Regions from separate parts of the Homo sapiens genome. Here all the other regions are linked to region 3. The links are contacts of gene promoters, found by promoter capture Hi-C in human tissues and cell types (Jung and others, 2019). All regions are on one chromosome and are shown on one strand. Each heading gives the region's core, a stretch centred on a gene start or on the middle of the fragment in contact. The rest is flanking DNA. Distances are from core to core; before and after follow the strand shown. Region 1 holds the start of CASS4 (Cas scaffold protein family member 4). Region 2 overlaps AURKA (aurora kinase A). Region 3 holds the start of MC3R (melanocortin 3 receptor).

Region 1 (4,368 bases), core at 452-2,951, 160 kb after region 3:
GAAACCCTGTCTCTACTAAAATACAAAAAAATTAGCCGGGCATGGTGGCACGCACCTATAATCCCAGCTACTTGGGAGGCTGAGGCAGGAGAATCTCTTGAAACCTGGAGGTGGAGGTTGCAGTGAGCCGAGATTACACCACTGCACTCCAGCCTGGTGACAGAGCAAGACTCCGTCTCAAAAAAAATAAATAAATAAAGGTGAATTTTATGGTACCTGAATTATATCTTAATATAATATTAATATATTATTATTAATATAATTTATATCTTAATATCTCTATGGATCTCCTCCTTGAACCAAACTGTTCATTGCGTGGGGTCATTGTTCCCTCCCTGTTATCTGCTATCGCCTGCAGCATGCCAATTACTTGGCCCTGAAGTTAATTTCTAACAATGATAACATTTAAAAATGTGGACTGTCTCAGCCAGAAATCAGTCAGCTACTTCAATGGGTAAATACATCCTGGTGCCCAGACTTGTGGGGACGACACATGGGACAACCAGAGGACAAGACGCTAAGTGCTATCTGTTGAACTTGCCTCAGAGGTGTGGTAAAAGAAAAGAAAATTTAAAAATAAAAAATTAAAAAATGCTGTCTGACAAGAAGATAGCGGTAAGCTATCCCCCACAGCTGGTTGGGGATAGAACTTGAGCCTGGCTTGGAAGAATGGGCACCATTTTGTCTAAATAAAAATGCAGGCCGGGGCCAGGCGTTGTGGCTCACGCCTGTAATCCCAGCATTTTGAGAGGCTGAGGTGGGTGGATCACTTGAGGTCAGGAGTTTGAGACCAGCCTGGCCAACATGGTGAAGTCCTGTCTCTACTGAAAATACAAAAATTAGCCAGGCGTGGTGGCGGGTGCCTGTAATCCCAGCTGCTCTGGAGGCTGAGGCAGGAGAATCACTTGAACCCGGGAGGTGGAGGTTGCAGTGAGCCGAGATTGCGCCACTGCGCTCCCACCTGAGTGACAGAGAAAGACTCCGTCTCAAAAAAAAAAAAAAATGCAGACTTATTTTGCTCAGTGTCTGCTATGCTGTAGGTCCTCTCTAGAGATTGGATCTGAATTTAGGAAAAGTAAAAAGAGTTGGCAAGTGATGATAAACTGCATGAGCTAGCAGGGGTTTCAAGTACAACACACACGATAAGTTTATTTGATTTAAGAGAGAGAATACAGGTGCGGGGCTCAGCATAGCCCTCAGTGCAGAGCCAGTACCCAGAAGATGTTATTCATTAGGTACCATGAGCAAAGACCAGGAGATGAGCATGGGGTTCCGAGCAGGGTGAATGCACAACTGACAGGGTGGGTAGAGTGGAGACTGTGTCCTTTAAGGCAGCCTGTTTGACTGCTTTTATCCTGGCTGTCATAAGGCAAGTTTTAGGGAGCAGGAAGGAAGAAATGCTGACCGCTATCAGAAATTTGGCCTAGTGGCCTCTCATCAGGGAAATGAGCTTGGTCTGTTCGGTTGGAGTTGTTCCACAGAGTTCAAAGGACAAGAATGCTGTGTGTTCATACACTGAGCTCTTCGAAGTAGGAACTTCGCCCTATAAAGCAGAAGAGTGGTGTTTTTTTCTTCTTCTTCTTCTTTTGTGGTTTCACATAGCAAATGAGTGACAGTCTCTACTTACAGACAAAGTGAGACGTCAGGCATTGAGACGTGAGTGTGGCTTGTATTTCTGGTCCTCCCCTGCTTCACTGCTTTCATTTTACTCTTATCGTGCTTTCCAGAAAGTTTGCCTGCTGGGAGAGTCTTTTTGATCGTTTCCCATGTGTTGTCAGATAGCTCCATAGAATTCAGTTTCTGAGAACCAGCCAGAAGCATGCAGTGACATTGCACAATCTGCCTCTGAAGCTGGAGATACTAGCTGCAGAGCTCAGGGGAGCTGCTCCACATCACCGACATGAAGGGAACAGGCATCATGGACTGTGCGCCCAAGGTGAGTGATGTGGGGCTGTTTGAATGGGCTCTGGCGGGGAGCAAGCTGTGATGATTAAGGGTGTTGACCAGCTTTAGTTGTGACTTTCTAATAAAGGTTGAATACCAGTGACGTGTGAGTTGGAGATGGGAAAGTTTAACATAAGTTTAAGTGTGGGAAATAGATGTGTTGTAAAGCTCCTTACCAGTTTGCATCCAAGATGGGTGAAAATGACTTTGTAGTAGAAATCAGCTTACTTGGTTGACAGCGCCGTCCATCATTTTGCGTCCAGCAAACTCCTGAAGCAAGATGCGAGTCTGCCTCAGCCCCCGCTAATTCCTTCTTTCTCTGGACCCCAAAGACACTCAGTGCCACTCTAACTGTCCTATTTGGTTTCTGTGCTCACCTCCCAACAGCAGAGCCCAGACCCTTGCCTGCAGCCTCCCGTGCTGAGCCCACAGTGGGCACTTACATGTTATTTTCATGTTAACTTGTGCATTATGTGAGCAAAGCTGGAGCTTTCAGACAGACTTCATGCCTGTCATGAATCAAAAAAGATTCACTATTTAGAAAGGTGAAAGAAGCCAGGCACGGTGGTACATACCTGTACTCCAGCTACCGGAGAGGCTGAGGTGAGAAGATTAATTCAGCCCAGAAGTTTGAGTCCAGCCTGGGCAACATAGCGAGACCCCATCTTAAAAAAAAAAAAAAGAAAAGAAAAGTTAAAATGGCTACCATATTAAAAAAAAATTTACCCAGACATAAAGAAAGTGAAGCTCAAGGTTGTGTTTTCATCTTGCTATGCCCTTTTTAAATTTTAAGTAGAACAGGAAAAAAGAAATGAAACAAGCAGTAAATGGGGAGCTTGCTTATAAAAATCAATGCTTATTTTTCATTATAATAAAAGTGACTAGTGTGGCTGTCTGCGGTGGCTCACACCTGTAATCCCAGCACTTTGGGAGGCCAAGGCAGGTGGATCACTTGAGGCCAGGAGTTTGAGACCAGCCTGATCAACATGAAAAAACCCCATATCTACCAAAAATACAACAATTAGCTGAGCGTGGTGGCGCATGCCCGTGATCCCAGCTACTCGGGAGGCTGAGGCACAAGAATCGCTTGAGCCTGGGAGGCAGAGGTTGCAGTGAGCTGAGATTATACCACTGCATTCCGGCCTGGGTGACAGAGCAAGACTCTGTCTCAAAAAAAAAAAAAAAAAAAAAAAAAAAGTCACTAGTGGAATTTGTGACTGAGTAACCCATGACAGTCTCTCTTGTATAGATTATATGTAAATATCTTAGCTACCCTAGAATTTTGTCCCCAACTACTTACTTTGAAAAATTTCAAACCATTGGAAAAATATGGGAAGCGTGGGGGTTATTCAGTAAATCCCTGCATATCCTTCACCTAGATCATTGGTTTCTGGTACTTTGTCATATTTGTGTGCATTTATTTGTGTATATTTAGACACTGGAACACACTTCATTTTTATTGTTGTTGTTAAACTCTTTGAAAATAAATGGCCAATACAATGACGCTCCACCCCTAAACTTCATTATGTGTCTCCTAAGAACAAGGACATTCATCTACAGAACGTAGAAGAATATCTACATATCATCATACCCAAGAACATTTCACATTTATTTAATAATGCCTTTCTACTATTCAGTCTAATTCACGTTGATTTAATAATGCCATTCTACTATTCAGTCCACATTCACATTTTCCAAAATTATCCTTTTTAGCTTTTCTGGCTGTTGTTGTTTGTGTGTGTGTTTGTCTTTCTGATCCAGGTGGTGTTTGTCAATTCTCAGTTCTTAATCTAGAACAATCTACTACCTTTTTCTCTTTCATAACATTGACCTTTTTTCTAAACAGCCTAGATTTTTTATGATTTAGACTTCTTTTTATGTACTGCTTATTCTGCCTAAATAATTTATGTAGCGCTTTACAATTGGGTGGGGTTTTGTTATTTAAAAAAAATATTTTTAGCAATGGGGGTATCACTCTGTTGTCCAAGCTGGACTCAAATTCCTGAACTCAGGTGATTCTTCTGCCTCAGCCTCCCAAGTACAGGATTACAGGTGCACACCACCGAGCCCCACTGCAATTTGTAAATAACATGCATGTTTGCATAGAACATATAATTGATATTCCCAGCATCCCCATGAAATTCTGCTATTAATATTATACAGATAGGCCGGGAGCGGTGGCTCATGCCTGTAATCCCACCACTTTCAGAGGCTGAAGCGTGTGGATCACCTGAGGTCAGGGGATTAGCCTGGCCAAAATGGTGAAACCCCATCTCTAGTAAAAATACAAAAAAATTAGCTGGGCATAGTGGTGCACGTCTGTATTCCCAGCTACTCGGGAGGCTGAGGCAGGAGAATTGCTTTATATATATATATAAATAGTAGCCAACCCTTACCGATTGTCTACATGTGAGGCCCTGTGCT
Region 2 (4,275 bases), core at 1,382-3,881, 140 kb after region 3:
CAGATAAAAGCAGTGATCAGTAATGGCAGTAGATGGGTGCTGAGCAGACTGGGCAGGTGCAGACTGTGGCCAGCGGGAAGCAGGCAATGGGAAGCACAGCCCATGTGAGATGCCTGCCCCTCCCAGCCCCAGCCAGGTGTTGCCAGGCAGAGACACACCAGGCCTGATGTGGCCAGACTTGAAGTATTAGCATCTGATTCAAATTTGAAAAACACTGAAAGAAAAAAAGGAAAAACAAAAACCCACCAGCCGTAGTCAACCTGCAGGTAGCTGCTCGCAATTCCTGCATACCTCAGAATAAGGGGTGCCATTCCCCTTCACTGTCCACCAGAAAGACTTGCCCATATAAACTATTCTATTAACAAAACATTAAATCCTCAAGTGATTTTTCCAGGATCAGAGCACTTAAGTGCTCTTTGAAAGATGACAAATTTAATCATTTTTTGTGGTACTATGAAAAGCAGGCCCTCTAAAAAATAAATTTATACTTAAAAAAAAAAAAAGGAATACAATTTTATTTTAACATGCAGAGCATGGGAGAATCACAGGAGAATGCTTATAACCCAGTGCAGTACAGAAGCTTATCTAATCTTTTTCATAGGGGAGGGGGAGGTGAGGAACGGGGCCATGCATTTGAAGGCAGTGCCTCGTAAGAGGGAGTGAAGGGACCTGGGCAGTGGGAGGCTGACATTACAGGAGGGGGAGGGGTGCAGCATTGGTGAACATTCTTTTGAACATGAACCTGAAAACTCACCGAAGGTGGGACTGTATTTCTACTTCTCTTCTGAGCTGATGCTCCACTCCGGCTTTCTCCAGCTGAGCTTTAAATAACACTTTAAGAGCCAGAATAAACTTGCTTTGCTTTTCTCTTGCCAAATAAACATTACCAAACTTTCCTTTACCCAGAGGGCGACCAATTTCAAAGTCTTCCAAAGCCCACTGCCTCCTAGGAGGAATTTGAACACTTTAGAATGTGAAGAAAACAAAGCTTTTCTAACAAATTTTCAATGAGTAGCAGACACATTCTACAAATAATTTCGTATTCCAACTTCACTCAATATGCATCCTCAGCAAGAACCAAGGCAATAACCACTATCAAAGAGCTGCCACGACATGAAACCCTGACGTCCCTAGCTGCCGTCAGGTGTGAGAGTCAGTGACAAGGAGCAGTCTCGGGTTTTAGACCTGAAGCACTCTATGGGAAATGTCCCAAGCCCGTACTATGCTCAGAGGAACAGGGCCATGACAACGCTGAAGACCACAAAAAGGATAAGTGACCAGAGAGGGAGGAATGCTTCCAGACCATCTGGGGGCATGTTTCAAACTAACCCCAGCTGCTCCCTCCAGTCCCAGAGGTGCTAATTCTCTCTGGGTGGAGAACCACTCTGGTGGTGGAGACAGAGCCACTGTTACTAATGGAAGCGGGATGGAGCCCACAGGCTAGCTGGGGCATGAGAACCAGTGGATTTAGACTCTTAGCCTCTGTTAGACCGCTAAAAGCAAAAGAGTCTGTGGGTTCATTCCTCGCTCCTCCCGGTACATTCTAGAGTCCAGATAGTTCAGAGACTGAGAGGAGGCTTTTAGAAAAGCCCTGGGGAAGACATTACAGCCAACCTTTACAATAAAGAACTAAAACTATAATACTGTCAAAACCCTCAGTCATATATGAGTATATAGTTCTGCAACATATTCTATTTTTTAAAAACTTGCACTTTTGTACAATAAAAAAGTACAGACGCATAAACCATATGTAGTGGTTATTTCTAAGGACAGAGAGGAACTTCCACACATTTCTATAAAAGATTCATACAAGCTTTTTCTAAATTTGAAAGCCATTTTTTAAAGCACTTGAGTTCCTAGTAAAATACCTCATTACACAAAATTCCATTTTTTTTAAGATTGGAAATCTGGAAACATTTATATCCTCTAAATGCAAATAAAGGCCTCATTTTTTTCCCCAGAGTTCCCACAACGAAATTTGCAACGAAATAATATATTCTAGTAGAACAGTACAGAACTTTGTAAATAAGAAAGCTTACTTTTTTGATTCTTCATTTTTCTGTTTTGATGCCAGTTCCTCCTCAGGATTATTTTCTATATGGAATAAGTTAAAAACCTGTTTTTAGAATAACTATATAGGATAAGCTAAGCTGTGAATAGAGGTGAATCAAAGAATTGGTCACCAAAATATTAATGGTATGTCAAGAATGATAAATCTGTTTTTTTTTTTTAAAGTTTTCCTTATAGAAAAAAAGGACTACTACACCCTGACTTCCATCATGTGAAGCCTTTATAGAATTTCTAAAGATGAGCAGACGTATATATAGACAGGCCCTTCTCTGATAAATTAAAGGCAGACTATGCAGGCTCTTCTGAAGCCTCAGTTTCCAAAGAAGAGCTTTTGTGGCAGAAGTACCAATCTTCCCATGCATGACGAGCTGCCAACTCGTCACCTTTTTCCCCTTACTAGGTGGGCCAGCCAACAGTCCATACCCTACATACGAATTATCACCAACATGTAGCAAAACATAAGCCAGCCACCCTCCATTTATATTAGCTGCCAAGGGGAAATATAAAAATAAAAGCCACCAATTCAGCAAAATGCACAATGAACAGTTGTGCAGCAGAGGACTGGGGTAACTATTTCATCAGCCACAAGGACATATGAAACATTTCCACTGGTCTGTCTCCAACATAGCAAACTCGAACAGCACACAATGCTCTGCTCAGATATCTGGATGCTGGTCCAAACTCTTCCTCCAGATGCCCCTGTCACATGTGCACCCCTCAACCCCCAGGACACTCACTCAATTAATATCAATCTAATCACCATCCCTAACTCCTCTTTATTCATCTTTCAGGTACAATTTATTGCCCAGTTCTAATGAGTCTGCATCGTAAATGAGCTCTCAAATTTGTGTGCACCTCTCCATCCTGGCTTGTCTTTGGATAAGTTAACTGCTTCTGAGTCTTAGCTTCCTCCTCTGTAAAACTGAGTTAATAACTGGCTACCTTCATGAAGTGGTTACGAAGATTGAAAGAGATGACGTGGATGAAGCACGCACTTATCTCAGAGCCTGCAGGGAATGAGCACTCAACAGTTGGTAAATAATTGCATCCACTCTGCTCCACACAGAGCAGGTTATTGCCATCTCTGACCTCAACCTCCTTCCTGTCTGGTACTCCTAAATCCAGCGTTCTACTCCAATTTATTCAGTACTTCCACAGTAAATTTTTTTTTTTTTTTTGAGATAGAATTTTGCTCTTGTTGCCCAGGCTAGAATGCAATGGCACAATCTCGGCTCACCACAACCTCCACCTCCTGGGTTCAAGCCATTCTCCTGCCTCAGCCTCCTGAGTAGCTGGGATTACAGGCGTGCACCACCACGCCTGGCTAATTTTGTATTTTTAGTAGAGACAGGGTTTCTCCATGTTGGTCAGACTGGTCTCCAACTCCTGACCTCAGGTGATCCACCTGCCTCGGTCTCCCAAAGCGCTGGGATTACAGGCGTGAGCCACTGCGCCTGGCCTTCCACAGTAAACTTTCTAAAAGGCAGAGTTCCCTTCTGAGTTCAAAAAAGCTTCAGTAGCTTCCAAATGCCCTAGAGATGAGGCCCCATTCCTTAACATGGCCAGCAATGCCCATGGTGACCTCACCGCAGCCTGCCTCAGTTCACCCACTTCTCTGGATTTCCCCCACACTTTAGATCTCAGTCCCTTCAAGTCACTTACTGCAAGCACCCTACATCCAGACTCAGTAACAAGCAATCAAAAGGACACCAATTTATGCTGTGTCCTCCCTGGGTGCCCAACTCTTCCAAGAGGGTGAGAATCAGGTCTGTATTTTTAGCATAGGTCTGGCCCATGGGCAGACACTGTTACTTCAACCCAGACACCATATTTTCTCCCCATCCTCAACAGATATAAAAGCTAAGGCTCCAAACAATAAGTGCAAGTATATACACTGGCTTTTTTAGCAACGACGACAAAGAAGGACTATCCAATGAGTCTCAAAAGCTAGTTTACCAGGTGCCGATGGCAGGGGCTGCTTGCTCTTTTGGGTGTTATTCAGTGGCCTGGAGACAGGATGAGGTACACTGGTTGCCTGCAATTGCTTCTGCTTCTGATTCTGAACCGGCTTGTGACTGGAGACAAGCTTTTGTGCTTGCAAAGGAATGCGCTGGGAAGAATTTGAAGGACACAAGACCCGCTGAGCCTGGCCACTATTTACAGGTAATGGATTCTGACAAGGAAATTGCTGAGTCACGAGAACAC
Region 3 (4,520 bases), core at 1,996-4,495:
CTTGAAGAATAAGGAGGGTATACCAGTCACAAAATTGAGGAAGAGCTTTTCAGGCAAAGAGACCACCTGGGTTCATTATCTCCTAGAATAAGAATCTCCTTGTTACATTTATTATAACTGATTCAAAACAGACACCCCCACATATGCCAACAACATACGGTAAACACTGACAGAGACTGTCATGTCCTACAATTGTTATTAATAAAGCCAATTCATTCATGCAAGATTCAGTTAAAACGTAATGCTGCATCTGTGCAACTCCCCCAGGAAAGTGGGAAGTAGTGTTTGGAGAAGACCAAATAAACACTCATGAGTGATGATGATACCTCTGAGGACACAGATTTTAAGTACTAGGTCCCAGCTGCTCTCTTTGAAGGATGCACACGACCAGAGAATGAAAGCAGGAAAAGGTGGTCAGTGCTCAGCACGTGCCAAGCACAGAGCAGGAAAAGACCTAGTAGATAATGAATGGTCCCTGCCTTATAGTCTAGCTTTACATGTATGACTCATGCCCTTGAAACCACAGACTGGATGTGACCCTGAGGGTAAGAGAAGTTCCCAAAAGGATTAAGAATGTGTTTTTTTCCAACCTAGAAGAATGGTGGCTTGGCATCAGAAATTAAGTCGTTCTGTTGAAAATAAACAGAAGTGGAAATGTATATTCAGGGCAACTTAAACTCATGCTCTTGACAAAATATTTTTTTAAAAAAAGCAAATAAACAAAAGTATTTCTCATGCCCCTCAGTTCATAGACAGAAACTCATACCAACAGGCTTTTTTTTTATTTTAGTAAGAACTGCCAAATGGTGAAACTATTCACAAACACTAGAAATGCATGAGAGTGTCCTCCCGATATTCTTACCTGAATTTTGCATCTTTTTATCTCTTGTCAATCTAGCTGGGAAAACGATATTAAAATCTCATTTTGACTGGCATTTCCCCAACTTCCTAGATGGCTTCACATCTTTTCATGTTTATTAACCATTTGCATCTTCTCTTCAGTAAATTATTATTTATATCCTTTGCCCAATTTTCTTAGGGGTAATTTATCTTTTTCTAGTTAATGTGAAAGTAGTCTTTGTATGTAAGAGATAGTAACTTTACCTATAGCAAATATTTTCATTCTGTTTTTCTTTTAACTTAGTTCAGGGTGTTTTTCCATACTAAATTTTGGATTGCTCATCTTGCTTAAGATCTTTCCACCCCAAGGATCCTAAGTTTTCTTCTATTTCCATATGCATATTTTTAATATTTCTCACACCTACACACACATACATAGTTACATGGAGAGATGGATCATTAATTCACCTAGAATGTGCGTGTGTGTGTGTGTGTGTGTGTGTGTGTGTGTGTGTAGGGATGAGAAGACTCAGTGTTTTCTGAGTTCATATGATCTACATGGGGAATCAGATCTAACATGGACCAAGTGTTAAACCATACTTCCAAGAACAACACTACATTAGTAGGCCACCTGCTAACTTCTGCCTTTCACATTTTCCAGCTTAAAACATCTCCATCCTCCCCATTATGTAAGAAAGAAGTACAGGTGTTTCTGACTGCTCCCTCTCCCATGATCCCATAACCCATCAGTTCTGAAGCTGCATTATCCAACCTTCTGAATCTCTCTGACCACCCTCCAAGTCTTCCAAGTCCCCATGGCCACTCCCTTGCTCCAGGCCACCATCATCTCACCCTGGGTCTTTGCAACACCCTCTGCCCCGGACTCCCTGGCCTACATGCTCAGTCTGTCTAATTCATTCTCCACCCTGCAACCAGGAATATTTCTAAAATGCAGACCCCATCTCATTCCTGCCCTACCTATGTTTCTTCCACAGTCCCCATTGCTGTCAAGGTACTGTCCAAATTCTCACATCTGGCTGAGGCTGTCCTTCAGGATTCAGGCACCTCTCAACTTTTTAAGAAACTGTGCAGCCTCATTTCTCAGATTGTGTCTCCTATTTCCATGCTCTGACCAGAGCAGACTACTTTCAGCACTTTCAAAAGCCCAAGATTCTTTTTCAGTGGAGCTCAACTGTGACTATGCCCCAGCTCACCTGTCAAAAATTGCAAACACACTTGTTCAGGTCTTACACCTGGGTGATTCTGACTCCGCGGGTCAAATGGGATCTCCACATCCACAATCTGTGATGACTTCTATGGCCAGGGTGCTCTCTGCCTCCAGGCTGCAGACGTGTGATTCCCTCTGCCTGGAGTCCTCTTCTACCTCCTCCAGCTCCAGCCCCCACCCCACCACCCACCCCAAACTGGATATGACCTCTTCCTCCTTGAAGTCAAAGCATAGGTGCTCCTTCCTCCAGGAACTTTGACAGTCCGGGTTAGGGCTCTTCCTCTTTGCATCCCTGGTTTCCTGGACTTTCCTGATTCAAGCATTTATTGATTCCTCTTCTTCCACCCCAGACTCTGAGTTCGGGGAAGCCTGAGATAGTGGCTGTTGTCTTGCTCACCACTGTATTTCCTGCACTCAGCAGAGACCTGACACATAGTAGGCGCTCAATAAATGTTTGCTAAACAACAACAACAAATGAATGAACTAACAAATAAACAAACAAATGAACAGATGAGTGGATGCCTGTGGCAGTTTCCATGACAAACACAAAGGGCTAAGCCAAGCCAGCAAGCAGACAGCCGTGCGGCCTGCAGAGGGCACTAGTCTGCTTCTTAATCTCCCTGCAGAATCCTCAGGGCCAGGTACCTGCTGTCAGTCAGAGAGGTGCCCGATGCTCAGTGGTCATTCTGCTGCGCTGAAGATTAAGTAGGAGTTGTTTGCCCTTGGCCAATATGAAAAACCTGAGTGTTCTCCCTTCACTTCTAGCGACAAGTAACACATCCCCTGTCTTGCCATGAAAAGAGCTGTAACTGTAGCAGCCGGTGGCAGGTTTTCTGTTCCCAGGTGGGGAAGTGAGGAGAGACAAACAGAGGGGTGAGAGGGAGACAGAAGGAAGACAGCTGGTAAGAGACCCTATGGTGTATTTTTTCTATGTAAACAAGATAAAAACTGCTCCTCCTGGAACAGCAAAGTTCTCCCTATGTCTCCAAGCTACAAACTTGCATGCTAGCTACTAACTAGCTACTCTCCCTCTCTCTCTCTCTTCCCCCTTCGCTCTTTCTCTCTGTGTGTATGTCTCTCTCTCTCTCTGTCTCTTCCTCCACCCTCTCTCACTATCTGTCTCTCTACCCTCCCCATCCTTTTATTCTAGAGGAGAATAAACTCTAAGGCCAGATTGAATGAGCATCCAAAAGACGTATCTGGAGGGAGATTTTGTCTTTCCTGTGAGCAGCAGCAGCTTCCTACGGACCCTGCTGGAGCCCCAGCTCGGATCAGCCCTTCTGACAGCAATGAATGCTTCGTGCTGCCTGCCCTCTGTTCAGCCAACACTGCCTAATGGCTCGGAGCACCTCCAAGCCCCTTTCTTCAGCAACCAGAGCAGCAGCGCCTTCTGTGAGCAGGTCTTCATCAAGCCCGAGGTTTTCCTGTCTCTGGGCATCGTCAGTCTGCTGGAAAACATCCTGGTTATCCTGGCCGTGGTCAGGAACGGCAACCTGCACTCCCCGATGTACTTCTTTCTCTGCAGCCTGGCGGTGGCCGACATGCTGGTAAGTGTGTCCAATGCCCTGGAGACCATCATGATCGCCATCGTCCACAGCGACTACCTGACCTTCGAGGACCAGTTTATCCAGCACATGGACAACATCTTCGACTCCATGATCTGCATCTCCCTGGTGGCCTCCATCTGCAACCTCCTGGCCATCGCCGTCGACAGGTACGTCACCATCTTTTACGCGCTCCGCTACCACAGCATCATGACCGTGAGGAAGGCCCTCACCTTGATCGTGGCCATCTGGGTCTGCTGCGGCGTCTGTGGCGTGGTGTTCATCGTCTACTCGGAGAGCAAAATGGTCATTGTGTGCCTCATCACCATGTTCTTCGCCATGATGCTCCTCATGGGCACCCTCTACGTGCACATGTTCCTCTTTGCGCGGCTGCACGTCAAGCGCATAGCAGCACTGCCACCTGCCGACGGGGTGGCCCCACAGCAACACTCATGCATGAAGGGGGCAGTCACCATCACCATTCTCCTGGGCGTGTTCATCTTCTGCTGGGCCCCCTTCTTCCTCCACCTGGTCCTCATCATCACCTGCCCCACCAACCCCTACTGCATCTGCTACACTGCCCACTTCAACACCTACCTGGTCCTCATCATGTGCAACTCCGTCATCGACCCACTCATCTACGCTTTCCGGAGCCTGGAATTGCGCAACACCTTTAGGGAGATTCTCTGTGGCTGCAACGGCATGAACTTGGGATAGGATGCAGGGCCATGGAAATGATCATCAGTCGGGTCACTTTTGACTTTCCATCCACGTGAGGTGTTTAGAAAGAAAAATATATATACTTAGAAAATATAAAAATGTGTTAACAGCCATGATTGTACTTGTCGTTTGTTTTTAAGTTTACAAAGCCTTTTAAAGGGGAAAATTGGTGAACAACAGATTCTCTG

The links. Contacts are between HindIII fragments. The study calls those that stand out against the background at their distance.
Region 1: the fragment with the promoter of CASS4 here is called in contact with the fragment with the promoter of MC3R in region 3 in 1 of the 25 tissues and cell types used here (adrenal gland).
Region 2: a contact is called between a fragment that was not itself captured here and the fragment with the promoter of MC3R in region 3, in 1 of the 25 tissues and cell types used here (hippocampus).

What each region holds. Positions count from the first base shown.
Region 1 is chr20:56,410,559-56,414,926 of GRCh38, forward strand. It overlaps CASS4 (Cas scaffold protein family member 4), which reads left to right and starts at 1,702. Exons shown (of 6, transcript NM_020356.4): 1 at 1,702-1,936. The coding sequence starts at 1,901. The HindIII fragment of the contact is 13,693 bases long and covers 1-4,368 here.
Region 2 is chr20:56,382,231-56,386,505 of GRCh38, forward strand. It overlaps AURKA (aurora kinase A), which reads right to left. Exons shown (of 9, transcript NM_198437.3): 3 at 4,027-4,275; 4 at 2,040-2,094; 5 at 755-946. Among named protein-coding and RNA genes, the nearest start is that of AURKA, 7.8 kb to the right of the region's middle. RefSeq lists an enhancer at 3,856-4,275. The HindIII fragment of the contact is 3,694 bases long and covers 785-4,275 here.
Region 3 is chr20:56,245,487-56,250,006 of GRCh38, forward strand. It overlaps MC3R (melanocortin 3 receptor), which reads left to right and starts at 3,246. Exons shown (of 1, transcript NM_019888.3): 1 at 3,246-4,329. The coding sequence starts at 3,358. The coding sequence ends at 4,329. RefSeq lists a silencer at 2,647-2,716. The HindIII fragment of the contact is 18,891 bases long and covers 1-4,520 here.